Regions from separate parts of the Homo sapiens genome. Here all the other regions are linked to region 2. The links are contacts of gene promoters, found by promoter capture Hi-C in blood cells and fetal thymus (Javierre and others, 2016). All regions are on one chromosome and are shown on one strand. Each heading gives the region's core, a stretch centred on a gene start or on the middle of the fragment in contact. The rest is flanking DNA. Distances are from core to core; before and after follow the strand shown.

Region 1 (2,902 bases), core at 1-2,500, 270 kb after region 2:
AAACACATTAGGGGTCTGGGCCTCGAGCACATAATTCCTGAAGCATATTGATTTGGGCTATGAGGAAACCATTTGTCCTGCTGGCCCTGCTCCTCGCGTCAGGGGATGCTGGGAAAGACCCCAGGGAGTTTCTTAGCCAACATCTGCGGACTCTGCCTGGTGAGTGAGCAGTGGCACCCCTGCTACTGGATCAGTTGCTGAGTGTCTAGAGCTTGGGAAGAGGCCCCAGCAGGCTGCCTTCCAGGTGCCAGGAAGAACTTTTCATTCATTGTTAAGCCACTTTTCGCTTCTGTTGAAATTTTAAAAAACCTAGGGAGCAGCTGCTGGTGAAAAGGTTGTTTGGGGCCTGGCTTTCTCCACCCAGCCCCTCCCTTTCTTTCCATGAATGGGCTTGGGTATGAAATGCAAAGCTAGAGTGACACAGCAGCTCTCCTCCTCCTGCAGGCCCCACCTTCCCTCCTGGGAGGTCAGGCCCGCCCGTTTCCTGGCACCAGGCTCCAGCTACATTTCATAGCTACTTCATAGCTACTTTTTCTTTCCTCCATCAATTGATCTCTTTGCTCAGGACTCCCATAGGCAAGATGTATGGTTTCCATGTTTTGGCTTTCTTTGCATCTCCCACTCCCATCATCTTCCGTTTCTGGAGCTCCTCTTCTCTCAGTTTTAACCTTGGGTGAAAAGGGGGCTGAGAAAACAAAGAACAAAAATCATCCAACTGTACAGTCTTTGAACTCTACTTAAGTTTCTTCAAAGGGGATGAAAACTACCAAAGCCCTTTTGGTCTGGCCAGGGGGTGTGTCTTGTGCCCTCCCGATGAAAGTTCACCTACATCCCACCCTGGATGGGTGGATGGTGCTCCTGGGCGCATCATTAGCATCATCCTGGGAGCTTGTTAGAGATGCAGGCTCTCAGGTCCTGGCCCTAGCCTCTTGAATCTGGATCTGCTTCTTAGGGTCCCCAGGTGATCCAGGTGCATATTAAAGTATGTGTGTGAAGCACTCTTCCTGGGTTAGTTGATTGGTTTTTAAATGTCCAGTCTATTCAGTGAGGCAAGTTCAGTGACCACAAGCTTGGATATCATGGCAATTAAAATTGCTGTGAAAGTTGCAGGATGCTTGCCTTCAGTTTCTTAGCTCCTCATGGGCTGGAACAGCAAACAGTCGGTGGTCCTTCTATTTTGAGTGACTCTGCTCTAGGGAGTTCAGGAATGGAAGTCAGAGATTCCTGAGCCCCTGGCAAGCATATGTCAGGTTGCATGTGTGCGGTGTGTGGGTCCACCCAGAGAAAGGTGCCTTTTTCACAGAAGAATCCTCTGATCTTCAAAGGTCTGATACAAAAATGATGAAAAACCATTGCTTTTGAAAGCCCCCCTTGAAATGCTGAAGACACTGTCCTGCCCTGAACTGTGGGCTTCATCCCAAGGTATGTAGGAAAGCTTATTGAGCAGGCATAGTCCACGACCAACCATCCTTGTCGAGAAAAGATAAGTGGGGCTGGGCGTGGTGCCCACGCCTGTAATCCCAGCACTTTGTGAGGCTGAGGCGAGAGGGTAGCTCGAGCCCAGGAATTTGAGATGAACCTAGGCAACATGGCAAAACCCTATCTCTACTAAAAATTTTAAAAAATTAGCCAGGCATGATGGTGGTGCCTGTAGTCCAGCCACTTGGAAGGCTGAGGTGGGAAAATCACTTGAGCCCTGGAGGCGGAGGTTGCAGTGAGCCAAGATTGCGCCGCTGCACTCCAGCCTGGGTGACAGAGCCAGACCCTGTCTTGAAGAAAAGAAAAAGAAAATAAGTGAATATCTATGGTATGATAGAAGATAATCCCCTAATATTTTATACACATATATATAGGCATGTATATATTGTATATTCATGTGTGCATGATGTTGTGTGTGTACGTATATATTTCTTCTTCTGGTCTGAATGTTGCCTAAACCTCTACCATTGATGCTCCATCTCTTTGCTATAAAGCCATCTTCTATTAAAATAAACATAACCCTGCCTGGACGGGTGAACACATTGGCTCTTGGTTGAAAGTCAGCTAAGCAGGTGCCCTCTGGGTGATGTGGCTCAGACTCTCCATTTACATTTCAAATTTTTCCATTTCAAAATTGGGAAAGAAAAACTATTACTTTGTTCATCACAAAAAACGTGCCCCCTGCCTGTGGAACCTCAGGCCCCAGACCCCAGGCCCAGTTGCAAGACCCCCAAATGCAAGGCCACCGCTCCTCATTGCCCCCTCGTGTGTTCCAGGGACCGGCAGCAATGCCTGCTACATGGAGGAGATGAAGAACGTGGAGATGGTGGAGGGGGACCAGGGGCAGATGTGCATCAACATGGAGTGGGGGGCCTTTGGGGACAACGGGTGTCTGGATGATATCAGGACACACTACGACAGACTGGTGGACGAATATTCCCTAAATGCTGGGAAACAAAGGTAACCCCGCCTGGTGGAGAGGACACTCACAGTCAGGGTGGGGGCAGCACTTGGCTGCATTCTGCCACTTGCAGTGGAAGAAGTTTCTAGGAGGAGAGGTCTGAACAGAGGTTTCAAGACTGGACCCCCTGGCTCACTCCTGACCTTTGTCTTTTGGACAGCAGAGAACCAGGGAGGACAGACCCCCAACATGGTACAAGATGGCCCAGGGTTGATGCCTGTCTAGGGGCTGCCTGTGACTGTTTTTTAGCCTGGAGGATTCTGGCCTTCCGGTCCCCTTGCTGTGTTCCTTTCCCATCAGAATAACAAGGGGGTGGGGTGAGGGTGGCTGGGCGGCAGGTTGGTGTGAAGCAGAGGCCCTGTCGCAATCGTCCTTTCCTCCGTGAGCCTCCTGCACCACCTAGTGGCCTTGTGGAGCTTTGCAGCTCAGGTCTCAGGTACCATGTCTGAAATGGCAGTGTCT
Region 2 (2,849 bases), core at 164-2,663:
GCCCAAATATGTGCATTTAAAGCTACAAATTTTCCTTTTACACAGTGTCACTGCATTCCACAAATTTGATATGTTGTATTATTATCTTTTATTTCAAATTATTTTATTTTTATTATTTTTTATTTTTGAGACAGAGTCTTGCTCTGTCGCCCAGGCTGGAGTGCAGTGGCTCCATCTCGGGCACTGCAACCTCCGCTTCCCGGATTCAAGAGATACTCGTGTCTGACCTCAGGTGATCCACCTGCCTTGGCCTCCCAAAGTGTTGGGATTACAAGTGTGAGCCTCCGTGCCCGGCCTCAACTTATTTTTAAATTTCCATTGATCTCTTCTTTGACCTAGAGATTTGGAATTATGTTGCTTAATTTCCAATATTTCCGGAATTTTCTGGCTTGTTTGGGTTGATTTCTAATTTTAATTCTATTGCGGTTAGAGATGATACTCTGATTTCAATCCTCTTAAATTTGAGGCTCACACTGAGGATTAAGTATAAAAAAATTTTTTTTGATACCTGTTTCATGGACTCGCCTCACAAACTTCTGTTTTAAGGTGGGGTAATTATAGTGCGTTCAGGGATGGATTTTTCTTCTGCTTTGGTTATGCATAGAGTGCACTGTGGCCCTTCAACACTATACTCTGAAATCCCACACAGTATTTTCCTCATCTGGAGGTCCTATAGGCTTACACTAGGGAGGAGGATCCAGTTCAGGCCAGCGTAGTCTTCAGCTGCGCCGTGGGACTTTCGGGGGAGCGCCTTTGCCCTCTCAGAACGGCTGGGCGGAACGGTGGGTTTGTGAGCCCTCCAGGCTCAGGGTGGGTCGCTCAGGGGCCATCTGGGGACTTTGGGAAGCAATGAAAGTTGTACCCTAGGATTTTTTTCTACTGGTCTTCTCTTCAGAGGCGAGAAAGCCAAGTTAAGAAAACCCAGACTCAGAAGGAGGTGGAGCGGGACTGCGTTCAGGCAAGGTGGCAGAACGCCTCGCCGTGGACGAAGAGAGCACATCTCTTCTTGCGAGGCCTAAGGAAGTAGGGCTCCCACTCGCCTCGGCAACCCAAGGACCCAGCCAAGGAGAGAGCCTCCAGATGAATCCTTCCTCTCCTCCTTCCTTCCCAGCCGCTCAAACTTTCACAAAGAGGAACTGGGTGCGGTAAAGAGGCCGGACACGGAACCGCTCGTCCGGTGACCGAAGAGACGGCGAGGAGGAGCCCGCGAACCCGCCTCTGTTCAGGCCCCGCCCACTCGACGTAATTTGCCCGCCCCTCTCCACCCTCCGAAGGGTGGAGCCTGAGGCCCCGCCTCCAAGCGGCCTCTCCCCGGAGTGCCTGGCGGCCAGCAGGGCGGGGCAGGAGGCTGGGAGAGGGACGGGTGCGGGGGTGGGGGAGAGGAAGGGAGCGGTCACGTGTGAGGGGCGGCCCGAGGTCACGTGACGGAGCGCCGGAGCGGAGGGAGCCGGGGCTGGGAGTTCTCCTGAGGGAAGAGGAGTGGAGTAGGGGGGACGCGGCGGCGGCGTTGACAATGGTGAGTGCGCGGCGGCCAGCGCGCTCGCCTCCCGCCCTCGTCCCGGAGCGCGCGGCGGGCCGGCCAACCGCGGGCCGGGCGTCGCCGGAGGAGGGGACGGGGGAGCAGGGCGGGGAGCGGGGTTAGGCCTGTCGGGCCACCCCTGGGTCTGGGAAAAGCTGGCGGCGCCACCTCTTCCCGGTCTCGGCGAGGCCCGAGCACCTACGGGCGGCGGCGTGCTCTCCTGGCCATGTCGGAGCCTCTGCCCGCGTTCTTCGACTGCTTGTTGGGGCTCTGGCTGGGGACTCGGACCCCGCCTCTGCGGGGGCTGGTCGCCGCCTCCCCTTCCTAGGTAGCCAGTCCCTGTTCTCCTCCCGGGCAGCCTCTCTTCCATCCAGGTGGGGCGACCCGGGAGCCCCCCACCTCCGGACTCTTCGGGGGACTTGGGCACTCAGTGTGTCACGAACTTGATAAACTCTGATATTTTAAAACCTGACTATGGTGACATTCTTTGATTTCATGACCCCAGTTCAGGCTTTCTGTTGACACTTGTAAAATGGGAGAGAAAAATAAAAGGACGTTGGAATGGGGGATATCTTTAACTCCAGAGACACCCGTTTGGTGCCCGCCGTTTTAAGCATTGGCTCTCATTTCCGTCCGCAAGCTATTTCGCTGAACTTAACGCTCTGGGTTGTTGAAACGGCCTATGAGGCAGAGGAGGGAGGGGAATCAGTGCTCTCACCACAGTCCGCGGAAGCACTAGCCTGGGCATTGTGGTATTTAGCTGGGTGTCGGCAGTCTCTAGGTTAGATCTCATTTTACCCATTTTCTGGTAGTAGTCGTCAGTTCTCTTCATTTAGCGCCTACTGTATGCTCTCCTAATACTACCTGCTCTTCCCAAAGCTCACTGATTCAATAGACTGCTTGAGACTTTTGGCTTAAAAGGCCGAGCCAGGTATATTTTTAAAAAGCTACTTTGAATAAATAACTTTTAATTTCAGTAATGATGTTGCTTTCAAAACAAAACAAAACAAAATCCAGACATTCATGTTCATTCTTAGAGCTTTTTTTCTTTCATTCAACAAATAATTGCTCAGGTGTGCCTAGGGGACCCCAGTAAAATGGAAACAGCGCCTACCTGCTCTCGTAGCTTACAATGTAGGGAGAGATAAACATTTATTTGTGTAAATTATTTGTTTAACGTGGAAATTAGAATTGTGACAGATACTAAGAAGGAAGTATTGGGGGACCTTGCCTAGTCAGTGTTAGGGCAGGCTTCTTTAATTGAATATCATTTGAAAAGAAAACTTAAAAGGTCCTCCTATTTTTTGCTTACATTTGTAATTATTACTTT
Region 3 (2,845 bases), core at 207-2,706, 290 kb after region 2:
AGCCTGAAGCTCAGCCCTGAGCAGCGTTGGGAAAATAATTGGCCCTATTAGATTGTAACTGCAAGCAAACTTAACATTTTCCCCTCGTGTAATCTATCCGGAATAATAAAAAAAAAACTGTATAAGACATATCTTTGGAGTGAAATAAAGACAACAAAACAAAGATCAACTCCAGGAAAGAACACTTCAGAAGGTCGCTAAAACATTGCCCACTTCCCCTACAGACTTGAACAACCTGTCTAGTGCATCTAGTGCAAAGTCCTTCTCTGTGTCTAACCCTCAGTCTACCTTCTTCAGCTCCACAGTCCCCCTGCCTTCCAGATTCATAGTTTTGGACCATGACCAGATTTGGGAAGCCATTCCCATGGTTCTACCCAAACTTGCTGTGTAATCACAGGCATGTCACCACCCTTATCTGAGCCCCGGCTCAGTGGGGAGGCTCCCCCCAGCTTCCCCAAGGACCCTCTTGCCTGTCGGCAGCAATGGCGGTCATGGAGTAGATGCTGACAAACATGGCTGTGATGGGGAAGAGGTTCTGGAAGTAGCAGAAGGCACGGCCAAAGTACCAGATGTTGTGGCTGGCATAGACAAAGTTGAAGGCGGCATTGAAGGCAGCCATGCAGAGGTCAGCCAGCGCCAGATTGACGATGAAGTAGTTGGTGACTGTGCGCATCCTCCGATGGGCCAGGATGATCCAGATGACGATGGCATTACCCGTCACGGCCACCAGCACCAGGGCCAGGTAGGCTGTGGCCCACAGTGCCAGTTGCCAGCTGGGCATGGAGAAGGCTGTGATGCCCGTGGTGTTGCTCTCAGGGCCAGATGAGATATTGGCTTCAGTCACAATGTCACAGGTCCCCATGGCTGCTTCTGGGTCTGGAACAAAGGACCTGGCTCCTCGGCTCCTCTCGGATTTGCTATGAAAGAGAACTCCCCTTCAGAGCATGGGAATATGGGGGCAGGGAGAGGAGCAGATGCCAAGCGTGGTGGCACATCAGGAGAGCCTGGGGCCACTCCTAGGTCTCAGGCAAAGATGAGCTGGGCTGAGCACAAAGCCCAGTCCAGAACCATTGTCATTTCAGATTCCATCCTTCCGGCCAGACTTCTCGAATATCATGTGGAAACACAGAATTCAAATCACAGTGTCAGAGCAGAAAACACCCTTATAAATCAACCCCTTCGCTGAAGAGATGGAAGACAGAGATTCCAAGAGGGGACGGGACCAGCCCAGGTCACTCAGGAAGTTGGTGACAAGTTAGGACTCGAACCCAGGTTTCTCGTCACGTAATTCAGGAAACCTTCCAGATCAGAGGAATGCACAGCGGGAGTCTCTGGAGTCCACAGGTCAATGGCGCAGCAGCCTCTCTCCAGGCTTTGGGCTGCAAGCCGGGCTGGGTGCTGGGTGCTCAGGGCTCTGCCAGCTGCCAGCCCTCGCTGCAGCTTCCCTGCCGTTCTCTGGGGCAGGGCCAGTGGGGGCCTTGGCAGAGGTGCTGCCTGCTCACGAGGGGGGGCTTTGGCTCCCGCCCCTGGTCCCACCCCCTGCTTGGCCTTGTCTCTTGAAAGATTTAGGACTGGCTGCAGAGGCAGGGAGAGACTTGGGGGAGATGGGGCTGGTACAGAGGGCCCAGCTCTCGGCGGATGTTGACTTTCAGCCCAGGACAGGAGCTACGTCTGAAGAGTGATTCTGAATACAGAAGGAGTTCGAGCCTGGTTTGGTGACTCCAGGCAAGTCTCTTAACCTTTCTGAGCTCTGTCTACCCCATCTGAAAAATATAGAAAAATGGTGTGCATCTTACAGTACATTTGTGAATTTTAAATGGAGATAATGTGCACAAAGTCTACTTAGCACAGGGGTTGGTACATAAAAACTATGATTGGAGTTTCTGGCCCGAAGGGAGGACCCCACAGCTCTGGGCGCTCTAGGAGGAGAAGCCAGAACCCGGAGCGTTTCCAGCGAGTTCCCAGGTGATACTGATGCTGCTGGAGCCAGCACTTCACTTTGAGAACCACTGTCTTAGGACAAAGTCAGGGCTCTTCCGGGAACCACAGCAAAGCTGGAGTTTTAACTCCTGAGAAGCTGCTCTAGGTTTGCCCCAAGATCCCTGCTCCTGGTCATTGACTGTGTGCACGTGTGTGAAGCAGTGAAGATGTTTCTGAGCAACTGTATGTGCGGCTGACGTGTTAAGCTCACACACACGCATGAACCTGTGCACACCTGTGGTGTGTGGACCATGAAGGCAGGGCAGGATTAGCGGGAGTCGGGGGGGCATGTTCTTCATTAAAGCAGAGGAGGCTTCTCATTCACCAGCAACCCACGGCACAGCAGCCTCTGTGCTCCCAGGGCTCTGCCTTGCACCGCCTGGGTTTCTCGTGGCTGGGCCTCGGCCCCCACACTCCCAGTCCATTTTCTGCTTCTCCCTGTGTGTCACTTTCCTGACACCCAGCCCTTGTCTCCCGGGGTGAGCTGAGAAAGACCTTTAAAGGTCTCTAGTGCTGAAAAGATTATGCCACCCATGGAATCCAATATAAAAACAACACTAAACCATAAGTCATGAAACTTAAACATGCTGAAATTGAAAGAGCTTCTTTATGGATTTTTCTGATTATGAACTTCTGGGTAAGTTCATCGACAATCAACACTGAAATTGTATCTATTGTTTGGTCTCCCTGCTGTGCAGATGTGAGGAGCATGTGCTGGGTCGAATGGGAACCCCATCCTTGCCCTTGGGGAGGGAGTGCTTCCTGGGCCCCTACTCCTCCCGTGGGTGTGTGCCTGTGTGCCTGTTTCCTCTCTGGAGTGGCCTGTTTGGACTTTGGACCCTAGCAGAAGGGTCTCTGCCTTTGA

What was found. Contacts are between HindIII fragments. The CHiCAGO score rates a contact against its expected background, and 5 or more counts as called.
Region 1: a fragment that was not itself captured here is called in contact with the fragment with the promoter of VPS26A in region 2 in 6 of 17 cell types (fetal thymus, total CD8 T cells, erythroblasts and 3 more); the score reaches 7.0 in fetal thymus.
Region 3: a contact is called between the fragment with the promoter of TACR2 here and the fragment with the promoter of VPS26A in region 2, in 10 of 17 cell types (fetal thymus, M2 macrophages, total B cells and 7 more). The highest score is 12.3, in fetal thymus.

Annotation. Positions count from the first base shown.
Region 1 is chr10:69,389,870-69,392,771 of GRCh38, forward strand. HK1 (hexokinase 1) reads left to right here. Exons shown (of 18, transcript NM_000188.3): 15 at 2,256-2,439. Among named protein-coding and RNA genes, the nearest start is that of TACR2, 26 kb to the right of the region's middle. RefSeq lists enhancers at 26-748, 820-1,531. The HindIII fragment of the contact is 366 bases long and covers 1,068-1,433 here.
Region 2 is chr10:69,122,765-69,125,613 of GRCh38, forward strand. VPS26A (VPS26 retromer complex component A) reads left to right here and starts at 1,414. Exons shown (of 9, transcript NM_004896.5): 1 at 1,414-1,516. The coding sequence starts at 1,514. RefSeq lists enhancers at 648-1,007, 1,872-2,378 and a silencer at 1,268-1,667. The HindIII fragment of the contact is 9,705 bases long and covers 1-2,849 here.
Region 3 is chr10:69,415,462-69,418,306 of GRCh38, forward strand. It overlaps TACR2 (tachykinin receptor 2), which reads right to left and starts at 1,457. Exons shown (of 5, transcript NM_001057.3): 1 at 471-1,457. The coding sequence starts at 862. RefSeq lists enhancers at 1,227-1,961, 2,712-2,845. The HindIII fragment of the contact is 12,893 bases long and covers 1-2,845 here.